Linked DNA regions of Homo sapiens: region 1 is linked to region 2. Evidence: promoter capture Hi-C in 16 types of primary human blood cells and fetal thymus (Javierre and others, 2016). All regions are on one chromosome and are shown on one strand. Each heading gives the region's core, a stretch centred on a gene start or on the middle of the fragment in contact. The rest is flanking DNA. Distances are from core to core; before and after follow the strand shown. Region 1 holds the start of LOC105374745 (a long non-coding RNA gene). Region 2 holds the start of C5orf34 (chromosome 5 open reading frame 34).

Evidence for each region. The method cuts DNA at HindIII sites, captures the fragments that hold promoters and counts their contacts. A CHiCAGO score of 5 or more calls a contact.
Region 1: a contact is called between a fragment that was not itself captured here and the fragment with the promoter of C5orf34 in region 2, in 1 of 17 cell types (fetal thymus). The highest score is 5.7, in fetal thymus.

Annotation. Positions count from the first base shown.
Region 1 is chr5:42,948,437-42,955,240 of GRCh38, reverse strand. LOC105374745 (a long non-coding RNA gene) reads right to left here and starts at 4,352. Exons shown (of 3, transcript XR_925964.3): 1 at 1-4,352. RefSeq lists enhancers at 3,389-3,658, 3,438-3,959, 4,338-4,482, 3,960-4,482, 4,459-4,518 and 2 more, a silencer at 4,069-4,168 and a cis regulatory region at 4,405-4,415. The HindIII fragment of the contact is 4,864 bases long and covers 1,322-6,185 here.
Region 2 is chr5:43,511,925-43,518,851 of GRCh38, reverse strand. It overlaps C5orf34 (chromosome 5 open reading frame 34), which reads left to right and starts at 3,704. Exons shown (of 13, transcript NM_198566.4): 1 at 3,704-4,046. LOC124900190 (a long non-coding RNA gene) reads right to left here. Exons shown (of 3, transcript XR_007058764.1): 2 at 1-4,659. RefSeq lists an enhancer at 3,937-4,096. The HindIII fragment of the contact is 8,167 bases long and covers 998-6,927 here.

The DNA of each region.
Region 1 (6,804 bases), core at 2,504-5,003, 560 kb after region 2:
GAGGCAGAGGCTGCAGTGAGCTGAGATCACACCACTGCACTCCAGCCTGGGCAACAGAGCCAGACTCTGTCTCTAAATAAATAAATAAATAAATATTAAAAAATTACAACTCCAATCTCCATGCTATTTCTAAGAGGTAAATAAACTAAAATGGCACTTAAGGTTTAAAATAAAGCAGTGGATATCTGAATTTAATCAATTCTAGAGTAAATTTTTTCTCACTTTAGTGTCTCTGAAACAGGTATATATTTTTAAATGGGTAGCCTCCTACCATTATGATACTTTAATTTGCAGCATTTTCTCCTGTTAATGGTATACTAATAATGTCTCAGGTGACCCCTTCTTAAAGAGTTCCTAATCTCGGCTGTATTTTTATTTCATTTTATTTTTTGAGACAAAGTCTCAGTCTGTCACCCAGGCTGGAGTGCAGTGGTGCCGTGAAGGATCATCGTTCACTGCAGCCTGGACCTCCTGGGCTCAAGAGATCCTCCCACGTCAGCCTCCTTGGTAGCTGGGACTACAGGCACCCGCGACTGCATCCCGCTAATTTTTTAAATTTTTTGTAGTGGCACGGTCTTGCTATGTGCTTCGGATGGTCCTGAACGCGTGGGTTAAAGTGATCCTCCCGCCTGGGCCTCCCAAAGTGCTGGGATTACAGGAGTGAACTCTGGCTCCCGCTCAGCTTTGTCACTAAAATGCTCTGCTGGGTGGAAATGAGGAGTGCGAAGCAGTGGGTGGGGCTTTTCTTTTACAAAGGCTCCGCCTGGGCTGTTCCTTCTGGTGAAGTGCTTGTAACTTTTTAGGTGGAAATGATGCCATTTTTCCTTTGTTCTCCCGTTCCTAAGACCAGGGATGAGCGTTCCCGCATCATCTCCCAACCTCACCCTGATGATACCATGCAACAAACTCCATCCTTTTCTGGTTGAACCTGGGCAGAGGACAGGTCCAGAGGAGCCTAGAAAAGGGCCTTCACAGGTCAGGAGATCCAATATGAAGTCGCAATTCTCACCCACTCCCAAGGCATTTGCCTTGATCTTCCCCTCCCACCATACTATGTCTGCTAGCTAGTTTCTCCCTGGTATTTGAGGATCCTCCAATTGCCTCGTGGTCTTAGGATCATCGTTAACTGCATCCTGGACCTCCTGGGCTCAAGAGATCCTCCCACCTCAGCCTCCCTGGTACCTGGGACTACAGGCACCCGCGACCGCATCCGGCTAATTTTTAAATTTTTTGTAGTGACAGGAACGCTCCCGGTAGGGTCTGTAGGTCTCTTGTGAGGATTTCATGCGGATGTGTAGATTTTTCGGGAAATGTGAAAGCTTAGGGAAAAGGGACGTTTTTCTTCCGGGCAGAGGCAGTTCCATATTTCCTATGGGGAAGGAGTTTTTAGCTCCACTCTGACTGAAAAGTAGGAAAAAGAGGGAATTCAAGCGCTTGAAAATTCGCCTGCTTTGCATTTCCCGAAAGACAGAAAACGTCAGTGATCCATTTCACAGATCAAGGGTACAGAAAAGTGTAGAGCAGTTTGAGATGTTTATTGGGCTTGGAGAGGTAGCGGACTTTTGCCATCATTCCCACCTTCTGAGCTGGAGTCTTGCCGTCCATTTTTCTCTCCTGCTCTCTTTCATCTACTATCCCCAAATATCAAGGATATCAGACAGTTAATCATCAGAATAAAGGAGCGGTTCCCACAGAGTTACATCCCGCAGAAGAGGTACGGGACCGAGAGAGTGGGGGGTCAGGCCTGAAGTCGAGGTCAAAAAACGCTGTGCCTTTCATTATCCTCGGAAACCTAGGCCGACTTTCCAGTTTGGAAGGGAAGAGTTGTCCGCCCCTTCTGTAGGATCCTGAGAGCTCTGGACGGGGAGGAGACTCTGGGACCGAGGGGTGGCCTGGGAGAGCCCCGCCACGGAGGTTGGAAGGGTGTTTCCTGCGTAGGCAGCTGTTGGCAATCAGAATGGTTTTTACTTTGTTCCTGCAACCAGCCCCATCCGCTTGGTTCTGGGCCCCTAAACTGCCTCCTCTTCTCATGCACTATGCACTGGGTTGAACGCAGCAACAATACAGACTTCCCTCCCAGCACGGTGGCTCATGCCTGTGATTCTAGCGCTTTGTGATATTAGTCCGCCCAGGCGGACGGACTGCTTGAGCTCAGGAGTTCGAGAACAGCCTAGGCAACAAAACGAGACCCTACAAAAACTACAAAAAATTAGTCGGGTGTGGTGTCGCGCACCTGTGGTCCCAGCTGCTCCACAGGCTGAGGCGGGAGGATAGCTGGAGCCCAAGAAGGCGAGGCTGCACTGAGCAGTGATCACGCCACTGCACCAGCCTGGGCAACAGAGCAAGATACTGTTAAAAAAAAAAATAAAGAAAAAAGAAATAAAGAGAAAAAGAAAAAAAGGAAAGAGAGAAAGAAAGGAAAGAAGAAAGAAAAAGAAAAAGAAAGAATGAAAGAAAGAAAAAGAAAGAAAGAAATAAAAGAAAGAAAAGAAAGAAGCAGAAATAAAAATATAACAGACTTCCCTAAGCCCGAAAAACAGCCTTGGGAATCGAGAGTGGGTAGAGGCCACAGCACTTTGGTAGCACGGAGCGCACCATGGGTCCATCGCTGCACGGCTCCTTTCCCGGCGCCAGCGGTTTCTTTCTTTTTTTTGAGACGGAGCTCACTCTGTCTCCCAGGCTGGAGTGCAGTGGCGCGATCTTGGCTCACTGCAACCTCTGCCTCCTGAGTTCAATCGATTCTTCTGCCTCAGCCTCCGGAGTAGCTGGGATTACAGGTGCCTGCCACCACAACCGGCTAATCTTTTGTATTTTAGTAGAGATGGGGTTTCACCTTGTTGGCCAGGCTAGTCTCCTGATCTCAAGTAATGCGCCCACCTCGGCCTCCCAAACTGCAAGGATCATAGGCGTGAGCCGCCGCGGTCGGCCGTGGCGCCGGCGGTTTCTCATTGCCATTGCTACTCCTTTGTCAGCGACAGCGGATGCTCTCTGGCCGCAACATTCTTTGCGCCAAAAGTTGTTTTTTTTGCAGCAGCGCAGGCATTTGCTGCGGGCAAGTGCTCGCCGGGTCCCATTGCCGCTGGTTCCCTTCCACACAACTTGTGAGTGTCCCCCCCACTCCCACAATCTAATCGGTTTAGGGAGCCAGAGGTTTCCCCGCGGCACTCTGCCTGTGGCGTCCGGCGAAGCCGGGGAATCCGCTGGAGGCAAGGCTGGTTTCACTGAGTCCGGCGTTTCTCCGTACCCGTACTGCTCTGCGCTCTGTGCTGGCCCAGGCGGGTCTCAGCACCGCTAGGTGCTGGGTAAAGGCATTGTCTGTTGTGGGTAGGATAGCCGTTAAGGGAGGACTAAAAGTTTCTAGCAGAGCCCAACTGGCGGTTTCTTGATCATATGAACACTAGCTCCGCGGAGCTGGATGTACTTCAGTGGCAGTGCATGTTTCTCTGTGGCATCCCCACAGCTGCCGTCCAAACTGCAGTGTTTCGCTGGCACCACTGCCACGTGGGTCACTTTCTTCAGTGGCTGCGCGGTTCCCTGCATCGAAGTCGCTTGTTTCTGATCCGCGCTTTCTCCCGGATGGCCGACCAGACGGTTTTCTGCTAGTTGTGCTACACATAGTTTCCTGGTCTCCGTGCGCCGCTTTCTCCATCCGAGACCCTCTAGTGCCGGTGTCACGGTCGCAGCACCTGGGGTTTCCATTGGCTGTTTTGCCTGTGGCGCGGAGTAGGCGGTTTTTCTGCCACAGCACTTGTCGTACGGAGTTTCTCGGTGGCCGAACCTCTCTTTTTTCTCAGAGTCGATGGTTTCTTGGTGACGGCGCCATTGGCTGCGTCAAAACGAATGTTGTCCTTGACAACCCCGCCGGCTGGCGTCACTCGCAGGCTCCCGGCACCACCATTTCGCCAGCCGAGGTCTCTCGGTCGCGGCACCGCTCGTTGGTCTGCGCCTCCATTTTCTCAGTGGCCGCAGCACCCAGGTTGCAGATGTGAGGGATTCGGTGTCGCAGCTGCCCCAGTTGCGCCCAGTTGCGCCTGGAGTTACCGGGCGGCGGCGGCGCTGGGCTGGGGGAGCCAGCCGCTCCTCGGGGCCGGTGGCAGGGGAGCTGCCGGGGCGCCTTCTCTTCCCAGCGCCGCCGCACGGACTGCGGCTCGGCCTCCAGAACCCAGTCCGGTGGCTGCGCTGCTGGGGTTTCTGTGACAGGACCCCACGGTTTCGGGCGTCGTTGGCTTCTTGGTCCTAGGAAGTTTCTATTTCGCGGTGCCTGCGATTTCTACCCCTTGTTCAAGTCGTGGAATAGTCACAATGTGATTTCTCAGCCCAATCAAGTTCCGACTTAGGACAAACACCGGTCTGGCCCTGGCTGCGATTTCTAGGTAGTAGGAAGTTACTGTTTCATCGTAACGAGGCTGAGTCACCCTGTGACTCACATCTCAGCAATTCCGGGTTTCCTGTAGCCTCGGAATTCTAATCCTAACAACCCCGGGTTAGCCCTGCCTCAAGTTCCTTAGTCATTGCAAGTTTCTTACTAGTAAGCTCTGCTTTAGCTGCTCAGGAGACGTTTAACTCCTGTAGAAATCTGGGTACCAGCGAATGCGGTTTTTTTTTTTTTTTTTGCTTAGCGATGACCAGTTTAGCAGGGCCTGGGAGCTCTTATACTAAGTTTGGTTTCACAATAGCGGGTCCCGCCTTAGCTAGGCCTGTGTTTTTTAAACTCCCCTGGAAGTCAGGAAATGCAGGCAAACGGGATTTTTCAGTTTTGCCAAGCCCCAGTTGACAATAGCAAGTCCCGCCGAAAGCGACTTTTTTTCCTACCATTTTATAGTCTAAGCTAAACAGGTTTAACCATGACTGTTATTTATTTATTTATTTAATTTGGTAGGAAATTTAGACTTAGGTGTAACATGTACTGGTTTAGATCGGATAGGGATATCCTAATCGTAGGATTGCATTACAAACATTTGTAATTTCTTCTTTGTAGGAATGGTTGTCAGCAATTTTTGCTTATTTTTTAATTGTCTTTTTGTGTCTTGCTCTGAGAACGACATTACCGATGTGCTTGCCTTTCATTTCTACTTGCATTTTAGGCTTCTATTATTTTTAAATTGTATTTCTATTTAAATGTTATGTATTTTTTTCTACTGATTTTAAATGTCTCAGCTTCGTGCTCCTTGACTTGCATGCTCAGGACGCGGGGAGCCGATCTCGGTCTCAGACTTGCTGCTGCCAGGTCCCGGGTTCTGTCTGGCGACTCCGCTTCTTATGCGGAGCTGTCGGTTTTGCGTCAGCACTTTTGCCAGTAGCGCCCACTGGGCGTTTTCTCAATTGGTGCACAATTCTTAGCGCCCAACAGGACGTTTCATGTTTTCGGGGCCCGTAAATTCTCTGTGCTGTCTCTTTCTGGGTCCTAGAAACGCTAATATCTCGTAGGAACTTCCTGAACCCCTTTTTACGGTGCAGACCGGTGACTGCACCCAGCCTCTGTGCTCTCTAGTAATTCCATAGCACCGTTAGCTGCGGCTTTTTCTCTCACAGCACATTACAACGGGTTAAAACACATTAAACGACTTAAAACACAATAAGATGCCACAACACATTTTTCTGTCACAACACATTTAAACACAGTCAGTTCATTTCTCCAGACAGGACTCCTATCTAAGAGCCCGCAGTTTCTTTCTAGCAGCACCATTTATGGCACCTAAATGGACATTTGTTTGGCAACACCAGGGCAATCCGCTGGGTGTCTGCTCTTGCTGAGTCCCAGCGCAGCCAGATTATTGTTAGCGAGGTCCTTAGTAGTGCCGAGCCCTAGCGGACAGTTTCCTGGTGGCAGCAATGCTCATTTCCCGGACACAGGTGGTTCTTGGCCTCTGAAGCTCTCTTTAATCCCTGCGTTCTGTAGGGCTACTTCTCTATACGGTCTGCTTAGTGTCAGTTTCATTTCGTTTTCTTTTCTCGCTGTTTTTCCGTCGGAATTACGGTTTGTTTTGGTTCTATGTACTTTCTAAAATTTTATCGTTTTTCATTTGTGTACTAATTTTAGTGCATTTATTACTATTGAGTTTCATATTTGGCTTGCCTCCGCCCACGAGCTCCGGAGACATAAATACCCAGGCTGATGCTGAAGTGTATTATAGTAAGGTTAAATTTCCTGCAATTGATAACTGTACTGTGCTACTGTGTAAGCTTATGTAAGACAATATCCCTGTTCTTAGGAAATGCACACTAAATATTAAAGTTTACTGGCCATAAGTTGTACAGTGTTTTTACAATTAAAAAAAATTTTTGCTCTGTCGCCCAGGCGGGTGCAGTGGTGTGATCTCGGCTCCCTGCAACCTCTGCCTCCTGAGTTCAAGCAATTCTTCTACCTCAGCCTCCCAAGTAGCTGGGATTACAGGTGCATGCCACCAAACCCGGCTAATTTTTGTATTTTTGGTAGAGATGGAGTTTCACTATGTTGATTATGCTGGTATCGAACTCCTGACCTCTGGTGGTCCACTCGCCTCGGCCTCCCAAAGGGCTGGGATTACAGGTGGGAGCCACCGTGGTGGCCCCAAATTCTTTAAAGAGAGGAGGGGAGGGAATATGGATAAAAGGTAGGCTGCAGCCGGGTGCGGTGGCTTGCGCCTGTAATCCCAGCACTTTGGGAGGCAGAGGCGGGAGGATCACCTGAGGTTGGGAGTTCGAGACCAGCCTGGCCAGCATGGTGAAACCCCATCTCTACTAAAAATACAAAACTTAGCTGGGCGTGGTGGCTCAAGCCTGCAGTCACAACTACTCACGAAGCTGAGGTAGGAGAATCACTTG
Region 2 (6,927 bases), core at 2,455-4,954:
TAATCCCAGCACTTTGGGAGGCCGAGGCAGGCGGGTCACAAGGTCAGGAGTTCAAGACCAGCCTGGACAGCATGGTGAAACCCTGTCTCTACCAAAAATACAAAAAATTAGCCGGGCATGGTGGCGCATGCCTGTAGTCCCAGCTACTCGGGAGGCTGAGGCAGAAGAATTGCTTGAACCCAGCAAGCGGAGGTTGCACTGAGCCAAGATTGTGCCACTGCACTCCAGCCTGGGTGACAGAGCAAGACTCCATCTCAAAAAAAAAAGAAGCAACTCATCCATTCAAGGTTTATCAGGAGATTGCAGCAATTCAGTCACATCTTCAGGCTCCCCTTCTCATTCAGTTCTCTTGCTGTTTCCATCACATCTGCAGTCACTTCTTTCACTAAAGACATGAAGCCCTCAAACTCAACCATGAGGATTGGAATAAACTTCTTCCAAACTTCTCTTAATTGGATATTTTGACCTCCTCCCATGAAGCACAAATGTTCTCAATGGCATCTAGAATGGTGAATCTTTTCCCAAAGGTTTTCAATTGATTTTGCCCAGATCCATTAGAGACATCACTCTGTATGTCAGCTATAGCCTCAAGAAATGTATTGTTTAAATAATAAGACCTGAAAATCAAAATTACTTCTTGACTCTTAGGCTGTAGAATGGATGCTGCGTTAGCAGACATGAAAACAACATTAATCTCCTTGTACGTCATCAGAGCTCTTAGGTGACCAGGTGCATTGTCAATAAGTAGCAATATTTTAAAAGAAATCTATTTTTCTGAATGTCATTTTCAACAGTGGGCTTAAAATATTCAGTAAATCATACTCTAAACAGATGTGCTGTCATCCAGGCTCTGTTGTTTCTGGAGTGCAGGCAGAGTAGATTTAACATAATTCTTAAGGGCCCTAGGATTTTGAAATGAGAAATGAGCATTGGTTTCAACTTCAAGTCACCAGCTGCATTAGACCTTCACAAGACAATCAGCCTGTCCTTTGAAGCTTTGAAACCAGGCATTAATTTCTCTCTGGCTATGAAAGTCCTGGATGACATCTTCCACTAGAAGGCTGTTGCATCTACATTAAAAATCCGCTGTTTAATTTGGCCACCTTCATCAATGGTCTTCGTTAGATCTTCTGGATAACTTGCTGCAGCTTCTACATCAGCACTTGTGGCTTCACCTTGCCCTTTTATGTTACAGAGATGGCTTCTTTCCTTAAATTTCATGAACCAACTACTGATAGCTTTAAACTTTTCTTCAACTCCCTCACCTTTCTCAGCCTTCATAGAATCGAAGAGAGTTAGGGCTTTGTTCTGGATTAGGCTTTGGTTTAAGGGAATGTTGTAGCTGGTTTGATCTTCTATCCAGACCATTCAAACTTCCTCCCTGTCAGTAATAAGGCTGTTTTGGTTTTTCTTATTATTCATGTGTTCACTGGAGTAGTACTTTTAATTTCCTTTAAGAATTTTTTCTTTGTATTCACAACTTGGCTGTTTGACACAAGAGGCTTAGCTTTCAGCCTATCTTAGCTTTCAACATGCCTTCCTTACAGGCTTAATCATGCATTTCTAGGTTATGATTTAAAGTGAGAGACATACAACCCTCTTTTACTTGGACACTTAGAAGCCACTGTAGGGGTATTACTTTGCCTAATTTTGATATTGTTGTGTCTCAAGGAATAGGAAGGCTCTAGGAGAGGGTGAGAGATGAGAGTGGCCAGTGAATACAGCAGCCAGACACACACAATATATATCAATCGACTTGTTACTAGTGGAAGAGATCTGAGTTACCCCAAGTTACCAGCAGCCTATCCTTGCAGGTCCATAGCAACTTCAGTCCTGGCCTCCTCAGAGAAGAAAGAATTTGACTGACAGACATAAAGCAGAAAAGAGACTGAAGCAAGTTCCAGAGTAGGAATGGAGGTTTATTTAAACAGGCATTAGAACAGGAAAGAAAGGAAGGTACGCATGGAAGAGACCCAAGTGGGCATGTGAAGGTTAAAGAGAGAAGGCCAGCCGGGTGCAGTGGCTCACGCCTATAATCCCAGAACTTTGGGAGGCTGAAGCAGGTGGATCATGAGGTCAGGAGTTCAAGACCAGCCTGGCCAAGATGGTGAAACCCTGTCTCTACTAAAAATACAAAAAAATTAGCCGGGTATGGTGGTGGGCGCCTGTAATCCCAGCTACTCGGGGAGGGGGCTGAGGCAGAGAATTGCTTGAACCCGGGAGGCGGAGATTGCAGTGAGCTGAAATCGCGCCACTGCACTGCAGCCTGGGCGACAGAGTGAGACTCCGTCTCAAAAAAAAAAGAAAAAGAAAAGGAGAGAGAGAGAGAGAAGGTCAAGTGCCGCATTTAACCATGATCTTAGGATGGGCTCCCTGCATGCTCAGAGCCCTCTTTACCCTTGGGAAGTGAGCACACACAGTGATTTTATGGATTTATACACATGCCCATCTGAGGCTTTCTTCCTTTTTCCGGTGGAGTGTATCAGAAAAATCATACTTCATCACTTTTGTCTCTTAACCGGCATGCCCAGGAAGTTGCTTCTCTCTGGGGCCTGCATTCAATTAACATTTTGATGTTAACAGGTGTGGGCCATCAGGAAATGGCCTTTCCCTGGCGCTGCCAAATTTTCATTTTTAGAGAGGCCATGTGATAATTGCTGAACCATCACCCAACATTTCTAGTGGGTGGGTGGCAGGGGAGAGCCCTCTCCTGCCTTGCTCATGCCTAACTACCTGTAACAGATTCAGTTCGCCATTTTATAATGTATGAGCATGATCTGTGGTCCCCCAAAACAATTACAGTAGTGACATCAAAGATCAGTGATCACACAGATCACTCTAACAGATACAAAAATAATGAAAAAGTTTGAAATATTGTGGGAATTACCAAAATATGTCAGAGACACAAAGTGAGCACATGATGTTGGAAAAACATGGCACCCATACACTTGCTCCATCAAGGTTGCCTCAAACCTTCCATTTGTAGTAAACTCAGTATCTGCAAAGCACAATAAAATGCACAATAAAACAAGGTATGCCTCTCTATGCTCTCACAAACCTCTGTATTTTATCTTAGAAACACTCACAACTGTAATAAATGATTGTTTATTCTTTCTTTCCAGTTAATCTCTAGCTCTGATCCTCACCCGCAAAGAACTGGGCCACCTTCCCTGCTTTATCCCCACTATGCCTAAACACACAGTGAGTGTTCCATAAACACTTGTTTAGTGGCAATAAATATAGCAGACACATTTATTTGCCACTTTATAAGGAAAAAAGGTGCAGATACATAGACGACCTATTTTCTGATACCAAATTAGGAAGAGTTCTCCATCTTTGGCCAAGTTTTTTTTTTTCTAAACAGCTTTACTGAAGTATAATCGTTTTTTACCTTATTTAAAAATAAGTACCACTCCACTAAAACGCGCTCTGTGGTTAGTTCTCGGCTGGACCGTTCAAAAGGCTGATCCTTACAGCCTTTATTATTAATACAACCAGGTCGGGACTGCTTTTGCGTGGGTCACCAGAAGTAAAAAATCAAAGAGGAGCCAACCCCATTCCGAACAAGGAAACACCCGTCCCCTTCCTACACCAATTCCTGCTCCGCCCTTCGTAGGGAACGCAGCGAGGGCAGCCTCCGGAGTGGAGGGGCGGGACTTCCGGCCCTTCCTGTTGTGGAGGGGCGGGACTTCCTGTCTTCCCTGTTGCGGAGCTCTGAAGCGGCTCCCTGAGGGCGCTGGTTTTGAACTGGTCTTGTGCGGTTTGCGCTTTCTCTTAGTGGTTACAGTTGGCGCTGTCTCCGCTTTCCTGTTTCGTGGCGGGCATCTTGGCCAAAACACTCTCCCTGCCACCTTATTCCTCTAGGGTTGTGATTTTTTTCTTTCACCAAGAAATATCACTCGCTGGTAATTTGTCAAACTGAAGAAACCCCTGAAGAAGCAGTGGTGGGCAGGCGCCGACGCTGCGGCTTCCAGAGCATTTTGGCAAATCAAAGCCAGGGACCGTTGCTGGGCCTCATTTCCGCAACTTTTCGGCTCCGAACTGCTGTGAGTGGAAGACTTTTGGTGGTTGTTTTGATCAGGCTCCTTCTGTAACTAGAGACTATAGCATTTTGAAAGAAATGAGATTCTCATTCATGTCAAGAACAGACTTGTGGATTTTTGAGTGTTAAACATACCCTGACGTAATGTGCTGGGTGATGAGAACGCAAGCGGGAATGAGACTGTAGAGATGAGAATGGCAGTGTGGGTTGGAGCCGGGTTATGGTTTCCTATGGTATGCCAAGAACCTTAGTCATTACACTGTTTGTTGTGTATGCTTGATTATTTAAAATTAGAAAACCGCCTCAGTAAAGCTATTAAAAAAAAGACCTGACCAAAGATAGACTATTTTTCCCAAATTGGAATCAGAAAATGTCTTCCATCTATGTATCAGCACCCGTTTTTTCCCCTAAAATACCAAGTAGACATACCCGATATATACGTGTGTGTTTATATATATATCTGTAATCTATATTGCCATTTGATAAGTACGTAAACAGGTGATGTAAAGCACTTGGTATGGTGTGACTTGTGGAAAGTTACCTATGTCATCAATACTAGAGATGGATTGGAGAGAGAAGAAATTCCAGACAGTTGCAGGAGTTGGAGAGTCTATGGCCTGAAAAAGAGAAAGAGGTAGAGAGAGTCAGGTTCCAAAGACAGAAAATCAACAGGACTTGTTACAGGGGCATGGAGTGGAAAGTCAAGTTTTAGAATATTGGCTGCTAACAATGAGACACCATTAATTCAAATTGCAAATTCAAGAGGAGCAGTTTACTTATTTTTCATCATTCAAATATTTATTGTGCCATTTACTATTTGCCTAATACTGTTTTAGATGCCAGAGATACTGTTACATATAAGACAGATAAGGCCCCTGCTTCGGTTGACTTTATATCCTAGTGGGAGAAAATAAAAAGCAAGTAAATAATCAATTTTGATGATAGATTCTATGAAGAAAAAACTTGAAGAGGGATGACAAATGATTGGGAGATGTTTGGGAGTAACTTTAACTTAGTTGGTCGTTGGGCCCTTGTAGGAGTTACATTTGTGCTGAAACCTTGATGATGATAAAGAACCAGCCTTGTGATTAGCCAAGGAAAAGACAAGGCAGGCAGAAAGAACTGCAAAGATGGGAAAGAGCTTGTTTAAAGAACATTTAAAATGCCAATGTATCTAAAGTGCCCTGTAGAAGTAGGAGAGAGTTGAGAAATGACATTGGGAGAGGTAGATAGGACCAGACTGTGTGGCCTTTGTAGGCCATAGTTTAGGAGTTTGGATTTTAAGTAGAAATGGAAGGTACTGGTGGGTTTTAAGCCACGAAGTGATAGATGTGATTTTCATTTTAAAAGATCCCTCTGGGCACTACTGTATGCAGACTGGATTTGAGGGAAGAGATGAGAGTGAAAGTGCAATTAGGGGGTATTACAGAAGCCTGCTTTTGGTAGGAGTGATTAAGTTCCATTTTAGTTATGTTGAGTTTGATTTATCTATGGGACAGGGACATAGAGAGCGGTCTAGCAGGCAGCCACCTGAAAGCTCTGTGAGAGGTCAGGTACATTTAGTTCTCTAGAGAAAGAAAATAATTAAAAGTGTGTGAATCTCCTCAGGAGAGACCATGTGGTTAAATATTTACTTATATCCTGACATATCCTCAGAAGATTACAGATGATATCACCTACAGCTGATTACATACATTAAAGGGGGTAAGGTTAAAAAAAGACAAGGTGGGCCAGGTGCGGTGGCTCACGCCTGTAATCCCAGCACTTTGGGAGGCCAAAACGGGTGGATCACGAGGTGTGGAGTTCCAGACCATTCTGGCCAACATGGTGAAAACCTGTCTCTACTAAAAATACAAAAAATGAGCCAGGCGTGGTGGCACGCACCTGTAGTCCCAGCTACTCAGGAGGCTGAGGCAGGAGAATCACTTGAACCCGGGAGGCAGAGGTTGCAGTGAGCCCAGATTGCGCCACTCTACTCCAGCCTGGCAACAGAGCAAGACTCTGTCTCAAAAAAAAAAAAAAAAAAAAAAAAAAAAAAAAAAAAAAAAAGACAAGGTGGGGCATAAAAGTGACATCAGTGTTATGTTAAGAAGGGATGAAATGTGGACTAAGGTCAGGTCTTGAAGAATCCTTGATTTAAGGGAATGGTGAAGAAGAATGATTAAACTAAAAACAGGTAGAAGTGAAGAAGAAAACTGTGGCAGCCCAATGTTAGGGGAGAAAAGTAGGGGAAAAGAGAGTTTGGTGCAAGGGAATGTAGACAATGCTGTTACACGTTGATGAGGTTTAGTAGGATGAAGACTAAAGTCATTGGGTATAAGAAGACATTGGCGACCATTGCGAAACAATGTCAGTAAAGAGATAGAGGTGAAAGCTGGATTGCAGTGAATTGAAGACTGATAGGAGAGAAGGTTGGTAGTGAGTGAATACTACACTTGAGCTGTTTATAGGTAGGAAATAGGGATAAAGTGAAAGTGTTTTCTATAGAACGTTATTTTTTTCTGGCAGGTAAAACTTGATCATCTTGGTAGTAGAAGGGGATAATGTGGAAGGGGATGGGGTTAGTGTTGGAAAGGAATAAAAACATTTCATAAGATTGCTTGAGTGCCTGCAAGGCAGCATCCACAGTGCTGGTCACTGTCATATTTGTTTTCTCTTTTAATACACACAACAATCCTGTTACTACTCCCATTTTACAAATGAGGAACAACCTGAGACTTATAGCTAGCTAGTAAATGGTAAGGTGTGAATGAAACCCAACTCTTTTTTTTTTTTTTTTTTTTAGTTGATCATTCTTGGGTGTTTCTCACAGAGGGGGATTTGGCAGGGTCATAGGACAATAGTGGAGGGAAGGTCAGCAGATAAACAGGTGAACAAAGGTCTCT